3 separate regions of the Homo sapiens genome follow, and regions 2 and 3 are each linked to region 1. The links are contacts of gene promoters, found by promoter capture Hi-C in blood cells and fetal thymus (Javierre and others, 2016). All regions are on one chromosome and are shown on one strand. The core of a region is centred on a gene start or on the middle of the fragment in contact, and the rest is flanking DNA. Distances in the headings are between cores, read along the strand shown. Region 1 holds the start of ZNF30 (zinc finger protein 30). Region 2 overlaps SCGB2B2 (secretoglobin family 2B member 2). Region 3 overlaps SCGB2B2 (secretoglobin family 2B member 2).

Region 1 (2,680 bases), core at 134-2,633:
ATGTTCCTCTGGATGTCCAGCGGCTTGTGTGTCTGCTTGCTAGGGTCTCAGAGTATTTATAGGGACAGGATGGGGGCGGGAACAGGATGGGGGCGTGGCAGGCCAGGGTGGTCTTGGGAAACGCAACATTTGGGCAGGAAAACAAAAATGCCTGCCCTCACCTAGGTCAGTTGGCACAGGGCCAGGGGTGGAGCCCTAGCCAGGGACCACACCCTCCTGTACCCAGCACCTCCCTTTCCCCCTTCCATATCATTTAAAGGGACCCCGCCCTTCCCTCCCCAGCACTCCCCTTCCCCACCTCCTTATCAATGTCATCACCCTGGACTGACTCCAGGAATCACTGTAATGTGGGCTTAATAAGAACAGAGCTCGGCTGGCCGCGGTGGCTCACCCTGTCATCCCAGCACTTTGGGAGGCTGAGGCGGGTGGATCGCTTGAGCCCAGGAGTTCGAGACTAGCCTGGGCAAGATGGCAAAACCCCATTTCTACAAAAAATATACAAAAATTAGCCAGGTGTAGTGGCGCGCCCCTGTAGTCTCAGCTACTCTGGAGGCCGAGGTGGGAGAATCACTTGAACCTGGGAGGCAGAGGTTACAGTAAGCCGAGATAGCGCCACTGCATTCCAGTCTGAGCGACAGAGGGAGACCCTGTCTCAAAACAAAACAAAAACAAAACAAACAAAAAGCGGAGCTGACAGTCAAGGTGAATTTCACGTTTGCCTGTATTCAGTTTTAGCATTACATAAACCAAAAGAAGAATGCCATAAAGGCTACAGGCAGCTAATACAGAGAGGTGTTACTGGAAAAGGAACCAGAAAGAGTAAATATCTCCTAAACGTATGATGGGACAGAAAGATAAATGCCTATTACATATAGTTAATATCTGTTTGATTAGCCTTATTTACATTCTCCTTTTAAAAGGTCTTACATTTAGCATCTTAGATAGAACCCACAAAATTTAAATATTTAATAGAAACTTAAAATTCCTGTATCAGAGGACAGAAATATATTTTTCTCACACGTGATTAGTCTAATTGCCACTATTAATCCTATTAATATTCTGTTAAATAATAGCATTTCTGTAGCGAAAAGCAAACAGTACGGAAAGATAATTTCAAACACCTAGTTTTCATATTTTTGTGTTAAAGTAATAACATATTTTGGTATAGATTATCATTTTTTGTTTGTTTTTGTTTTTGCTTTTTCTGACCTGGTGTGTTAATGCCCTGGGTTGGCCCTCTAAGAAGCTGGCCACCTACTTCGGGCCTCAGGTGTCAGACGCCCCAGCTTCGAGGTCTATGGCTCCCAGCAACTCGAGCGCCTGCGCCTGCGCATTCTCAGCCGGACGGGAGCGCCCAGAAGTCTCCGGGCGCCGGTGGGCGGCCTTGTGGACTGCGCCGGGCATGCTCGGCGGTGTGACGGCTCAGGACTGCATTTCCCAGAGGCTGCAGCTATCCGGCCAATGTAGCCTGAAACTACATTTCTCAGCGGCCACTGGAACGACCTCAATCTCTGCCTCCTCGCCAGTTCATTGTGGTCGTTGACCCGGCAGCGAGCTTTGGAGTTCATCGAGGGAGAAGTCAGCGCCCAGCTCCGAGGTTGGAGCAGCCCCGCCGGGCAACTTGAATTTCTGCAAACGAACACAGCACCGGGAGCTCTGCAGACCTGTGTCGGCGCGGAACCCGGACTGAGACATGCGTGAGCGTTGGGTGGACCGGGCGAGGATCCCGGGCCGGCGAGTGCGGGAGCGGCAGGGCAGGGAGGGTGCGTCGGCCGGGGCCGGTGTGCATCCGCGAAGACTGGGTGCATGGCCTCCATGCGAACCTGAGCTATTAATATTTGTTACTATTTTGGATAAAATCACTGTAATTGATTTATGTAAAGGAGCAAAAGACTCTTCAACTCTCAGTTTAAAAAGGAAACGATAGTTATGATACCTTTTGCATGCAGCGGGAAGAAATGGGATTGCCAGGAAGCCTCTTCTTGTTTGGAAAAAACTGTATAAAGTATTTACACCTTTTAAAGATGAGAGCAATGTCATCTGAAAATTATCAGTGCAGGGAAAAGGACTTCAAAGGATCTGTTGTGCAGATTACTTAACTAATGACAAAATTATGTAAGAAAGGAGAGCAAGATGACAGCTGTAAACATTTCCATCAATCTCCATATTGCACAGAAATAGGACCCAGCTTTTTCTTAAGGTTCTTCAATTTTGCATTATCCCACAGCAGTAGCTCTCTCTCTCTAGCTGCTAGGGGACAGAGGAAATTGAAATGTCAGAGAATCTTTTCTGTTGGTTTTTTATTTGTTTGTTTTTAAAGAAGAGTTGCTCTTAATTTTTTAGTTAGAATTAAAAGAAAGCATGCCAGAGAAACTTACGTTTTAAGTAAAAAGTGGAAACAGGTCGGGTGCCATGGCTCATGCCTGTAATCCCAGCACTTTGGGAAGCTGAGGCGGGTGGATTGCCTGAGCTCAGGAGTTCGAGACCACCAACATGGCAACATGGTGAAACCCCGTCTCTACTAAAAATATAAAAATTAGCCAGGCATGGTGGCGTGCGCTTGTAGTCACAGCTACTTGAGAGGCGGAGGTGGGAGAAGTGCTTGAAGCTGGGAGGCGGCGGAGGTTGCAGTGAGTGGAGATGGCACCACCGCAATCCAGCCTGGGCGACAGAGCGAGAT
Region 2 (2,680 bases), core at 181-2,680, 290 kb before region 1:
GTAATCCTTGGGCTTGTGGGTTAATGCCAAAAACTCAAGAAGCAATTTCACAAATGCCAATGCCTCCCTGTGTTCCCAATTCACCCTGACGCTCCAAAGGAAGAACAGAAAGCTATCTTGATATTCTAGACATCACTACCACTTGTTTTCCTACACTTGCTGGAAACAATATCCTAACCTTTCCAATTAGTAACCTAATCACTACCAAATATAGAAAACACATTCGAGTGATGCCTGCAAAAGATGTATTATGCTTCCAGGCATCACATACTCAAGATCTGGGGACTATGTATGCAGGCTATTCGTGCATAGTATCATAAGTAATTGCTATATAATGTCACCAGAACAAATCCAGTAGGGTCCTTCTTCATGTGGTTATACACCTTAACAGCATGCTGTAAAGGGACCACAAAGAATTTTCCCACTGAACTTTGTTCAGGAGCCATCAGGCTTACAGGTCAAATTTAACTTACTTCTGCTCAAACACCACCAGGAGGCGCTCTTTTCCAATGCTTGAGGACCTATCTTGGGTCCGCAGAGAATTTGCTTACCCTTTCTTCCTCTTCACTGGTTTAGATCTTGCTCTTTGATGGGTCTCACTCCTGCCTTTTGAATAGCTTCCTCTGACAGTTCCCATAATACCTTCCATAATCAGAGGCCAAAACAGTAAACAAAATGATCATCGGCCTTGAAAGAGACTAAGATAAGCTAGTTTCTACTGAGGAAAGGTTCCAGTGGGGTTCCTGAGGGCTTGCTCTTGGTGGTAGTAGGGTGCTGGTAGTGTGGAATTCAGAACAGATCCATAAATTGGGGAAAATCTTGGACTTTATGGCCAACCAAACCTTCCAGTGGTTCAGTAGAAGCCACCCTCCAAAAGGTAGATGATAACCTATGCATCTAACAAAACACTTAATAGAATATCATGCAGCTTAATTTATTTGAGATAAGGTCTTGCTGTGTCACCCAGGTGGGAATACAGTGGGGCTCACTGCAGCCTCGACCTCCTGGACTCAAGGGATCCCCCCACCTCAGCCTCCTGAGTATCTGGGATCACAGGTGTGCACCAGACCTGGCTAATTTTTAATTTCTCTTTTTTTTTTTAAATAGAGACAGGGTCTCCCTATGTTGCCCAGGCTGGTCTCAAACTCCTGGGCTCAAGTGATCCTCTCATCTTGGCCTCCCAAAGTACTGGGATTACAGGTGTGAGCCCCTGCACCCAGCCTCATGCAGCTTTACATCATTTTGATCATGTTGGGGACTTGTGCTGAATCAAACTGAGTGCTGTATCTACACTTCCCCTGATTTTGCTACTATGGAAAGCTTAATTTAAAAGGTGGCTATTTCTTTAGATACTTTTATCAAATACATGAAGAAAATTTCAATAGATGAAGAAAAAAAATTTTTTTTAACTCTGGTAAAATATACATAGCATGAAGTTAATCATTTTAACTATGTTAAGTGTATAGTTCAGTGGCATTAAGTACATTCACGATGTTGTGCCACCATCACCACTATCGATGTCCAAAACTTTTCATGAATGGCAAGCTTAGCTTTTCCAGGGTTTTTGAATCTTTATGTTTTTTTCTGGTGGGTCTCCAGGTTACTATGACTTACAGTACCAGGCTAATGACATAAACTGATACCTCTTTATTATTATTTTTTTCCAGATGTGAAATTATAAATGCAGGGACTTAGAGCTCATACAACTTTAAAAAGGTTGGGAAAGTGAAGTTATCACCACTTGGTTATATCTCCTAAGGAAACTAATTTGAGGTCTCCCCTTCTCAATTTTTCCTTCTTTATAGGTACTATTAATGCCCTAGCCCAGCAACCTGACTTATTATTGAATATATTCGGGGTGTGATGGTGAATACTTAATCACCATCACACCCCAAACAAAGATTATGACCAATTGGACTCAAATACTATTGAGCTGCTTATATGCCTGGACTTTGACTTGTTTGGTTTTGACTGGTTTTGTTCATAGGGCCTCCTGTGAAGGAGTACACTTTGGTCTCTTGGTATTATTTTCTGGTAGTCATCGTAATAGTCCCCCTGGTGCACTGTATCCTGTCAAATCTTAAATGTGTGTATGCAGACATCCATTGTGCACTGAATGGTCTCCCTTTGGCTAGATCAGCAAGAATACAATTATTTAACTGATCTGACATCATGACTTGTGAATTCCGTGCTGAGGCCAAGTAAGTCTAATACAATGGTGACAGACAGTGTCAATGCCCAGGGTTTTGGTCACTATGTCAAAATCCAATGGCTGACCCAAAGTGGGGAATTGGCAAATTGAACTAAATTTGGCCTGAGGCTGTCTCCATATCTTGAGTCCTCGTGGAGCTGGTTTGGAGTTTCGTTTTGGAATTTGGTAGCGGAAGGTCAAGGTCGTTTGCCAGATGGCTATAACTTCTCTTTATGCTCAAAGATCTTGACAGTATGTAAATTGGGTGATCACCTTTTCTATTTCTAGTTTTGGTTGATCTTCTGTTAGGTTTGACCAACTCTTGGCCCCTCTTATGTCGACTAAAACTCCTGCAGCTGCAGAAAGTCAAGTTCCAGCACTAGAAACAAGGACCAGTTAAGAGAAATCATTTTACCCCAAAAATATATTTCTTTGACATATTTTGAAGGGACCCTGCTAGATCTTTCCTAGTCTAGATCTAGGAAAGAT
Region 3 (2,680 bases), core at 121-2,620, 270 kb before region 1:
AGCCAAAATAGACAAATGGGATCTAATTGAACTAAAGAGCTTCTGCACAGCAAAAGAAACTATCATCAGAGTGAACAAGCAACCTACAGAATTGGAGAAAATTTTCGTAATCTACCCATCTGACAAAGGGCTAATATCCAGAATCTACAAAGAACTTAAACAAATTTACAAGAAAAAAGCAAACAACCCCATCAAAAAGTGGGCAAAGGATATGACCAGACACTTCTCAAAAGAAGACATTTATGCAGCCAACAGATATATGAAAAAATGCTCATCATCACTGGTCATCAGAGAAATGCAAATCAAAACCACAGTGAGATACCAGTTAGAATGGCGATCATTAAAAATCAGGAAACAACAGATGTTGGAGAGGATGTGGAGAAATAGGAATGCTTTTACATTGTTGGTTGAAGAGTAAATTAGTTCAACCATTGTGGAAGACAGTGTGGCGATTCCTCAAGGATCTAGAACTAGAAATACCATTTGACCCAGCGATCCCTTTACTGGGTATATACCCAAAGAATTATAAATCACTCTACTATAAAGACACATGTACACATATGTTTATTGCAGCACTATTCACAATAGCAAAGACTTGGAACCAACCCAAATGTCCATCAATGATAGAATGGATTAAGAAAATGTGGCACATATACACCATGGAATACTATGCAGCCATAAGAATGGATGAGTGCATGTCCTTTGCAGGGACATGGATGAAGCTGGAAACCATCATTCTCAGCAAATTATCACAAGGACAGAAAGCCAAACACCACATATTCTCACTCATAGGTGGGAGTTGAACAATGAGAACACATGGACACAGGGCAGGGAATATCACATGTCGGGGCCTGTCGGGGGTGGGGGGCTGGGGTAGGGATACCATTAGGAGAAATACTTAATGTAGGCGATGAGTTGATGGGTGCAGTAAACCAACATGGCACATGTATACCTATGTAACAAACCTGCATGTTATGCACATGTACCCTAGAACTCAAAGTATAATAAAAAAATAAATAAATAAACGTGCAATGACATTAAAAAAAAGAAATACATATGTAAAAAATTATTGTGATAAAATAAGGGAGACCAAAATAAATGGCAACATGTACCAGTGTTATGGAGAGGAATATTCAATATTATCAAAATTTCAGTTCTCTCCAAATTGAATTCAAAAAGCTGTTTCTAAACATCTGGCACTGTAGAGGGCCAAAACCAGCAAAGACATTCTAGGAACAAGGCCAAAGTAGAAGGACTCCCTCTGCCAGAGTCAAGAACTAAGTAAAGCTTTAGTGTGTACTCAACGCAGTGCCACACTGGCATAGAGACAGACAAAGAGACCAGCGACATGAAATAGGGAACCCAGAAGCAAACTATGTCCCTCTATGGGGCACTTGGTTGTTGACAAAAGGGACACTGAGAATAATGGAATAAGGGCCATCTTCTCTTAAACCAAGCTTGTCCAACCTGCGGCCTGCAGGCCCCATGCAGCCCAGGACAGCTTTGAATGTGGCCCAACACAAATTTGTAAACTTTTTAAAAACATTATGAGTTTTTCTGTGATTTTTTTTTTTAGCTCATTAGCTATTGTTAGTGTTAGTGTATTTTTTTTTAATTTAATTTAATTTTTTTGAGATGGAGTCTTGCTCTGTCACCAGGCTGGAGTGCAGTGGCCTGATCTCGGCTCATCGTAACCTCTGCCTCCCAGGTTCAAGCAATTCTCCTGCCTCAGCCTCCCAAGTAGCTAGGACTACATGTGTGTGCCACCACTCCAAGCTAATTTTTTTGTATTTTTAGTGGAGAGGAGCTTTCACCATGTTGGCCAGAATGGTCTTAATCTCTTGATCTCGTAATCCACCTGCCTTGGCCTCCCAAAGTGCTGGGATTACAGGTGTGAGCCACCGCGCCGGGCCATGTTAGTGTATTTTATGTGTGACCCAAAACAATTCTTCTTCTTTCAGTGTGGCCCGTGGAAGCCAAAAGATTACACAACCCTGTCCTAAACTGGGACAGCAGGGAATCTATATAATTAAAAAGAAAGGGAGTTCTTACCCACACTTCACGTAAAAGTCCATTCCATGTACTTTAGAGACCTCAATGGGCAATCCAAAACAATAAAGACTTTACAAATCTTTATGTAGAAGAATATCTTTATGACCATGACATGAGAATCTTTTTTCCAAAGGAATAAAACCATATTAAAAATAACAATAAAGAGATAAAAATGTTTTTTAAACAACACACACACACACACACACACACAACATGAAGCATAAAGTATAACATTGATAAATTTAATTATATTAAACTTTAAACTTCTGCTCATTAAAAACCATAAGGAAAATACAAAGCTGATCCACAGTGTTGGGGAACACATTTCCCACAAATAACCAAACAAGGGCTCTTATCAAGAAAATATAAAGAACTCCTTTAGCACATTGGGAGGCCAAGGCACAGGAGTTCAAGACCAGCCTGGGCAACATGGTGAAATCCGTCTCTACTGAAAATACAAAAATTAGCCAGGCACAGTGGTATGTGCCTGTAGTTCCAGCTACTCAGGAGGCTGAAACAGGAGGATCGCTTGAGCTCAGGAGGTTGAGGCTGCAGTGAACCGAGATCATGCCACTGTACTTTAGCCTGGGCGGCTGAGAGAGACCCTGTCTCCAAAAAAACAAACAAA

What was found. The method cuts DNA at HindIII sites, captures the fragments that hold promoters and counts their contacts. A CHiCAGO score of 5 or more calls a contact.
Region 2: a fragment that was not itself captured here is called in contact with the fragment with the promoter of ZNF30 in region 1 in 5 of 17 cell types (erythroblasts, megakaryocytes, naive CD4 T cells and 2 more); the score reaches 8.9 in erythroblasts.
Region 3: a fragment that was not itself captured here is called in contact with the fragment with the promoter of ZNF30 in region 1 in 5 of 17 cell types (erythroblasts, M1 macrophages, megakaryocytes and 2 more); the score reaches 7.4 in erythroblasts.

What each region holds. Positions count from the first base shown.
Region 1 is chr19:34,925,520-34,928,199 of GRCh38, forward strand. It overlaps ZNF30 (zinc finger protein 30), which reads left to right and starts at 1,384. Exons shown (of 5, transcript NM_194325.3): 1 at 1,384-1,697. ZNF30-AS1 (ZNF30 antisense RNA 1) reads right to left here and starts at 1,307. Exons shown (of 3, transcript NR_110749.1): 1 at 1,210-1,307. The HindIII fragment of the contact is 20,354 bases long and covers 1-2,680 here.
Region 2 is chr19:34,639,189-34,641,868 of GRCh38, forward strand. The region is part of intron 1 of SCGB2B2 (secretoglobin family 2B member 2); the gene reads right to left. It also overlaps the pseudogene ZNF807P and the pseudogene SCGB1B2P. Among named protein-coding and RNA genes, the nearest start is that of SCGB2B2, 37 kb to the right of the region's middle. The HindIII fragment of the contact is 225 bases long and covers 1,319-1,543 here.
Region 3 is chr19:34,660,267-34,662,946 of GRCh38, forward strand. All of the region lies in intron 1 of SCGB2B2 (secretoglobin family 2B member 2), which reads right to left. It also overlaps the pseudogene ZNF807P and the pseudogene SCGB1B2P. Among named protein-coding and RNA genes, the nearest start is that of SCGB2B2, 16 kb to the right of the region's middle. The HindIII fragment of the contact is 170 bases long and covers 1,286-1,455 here.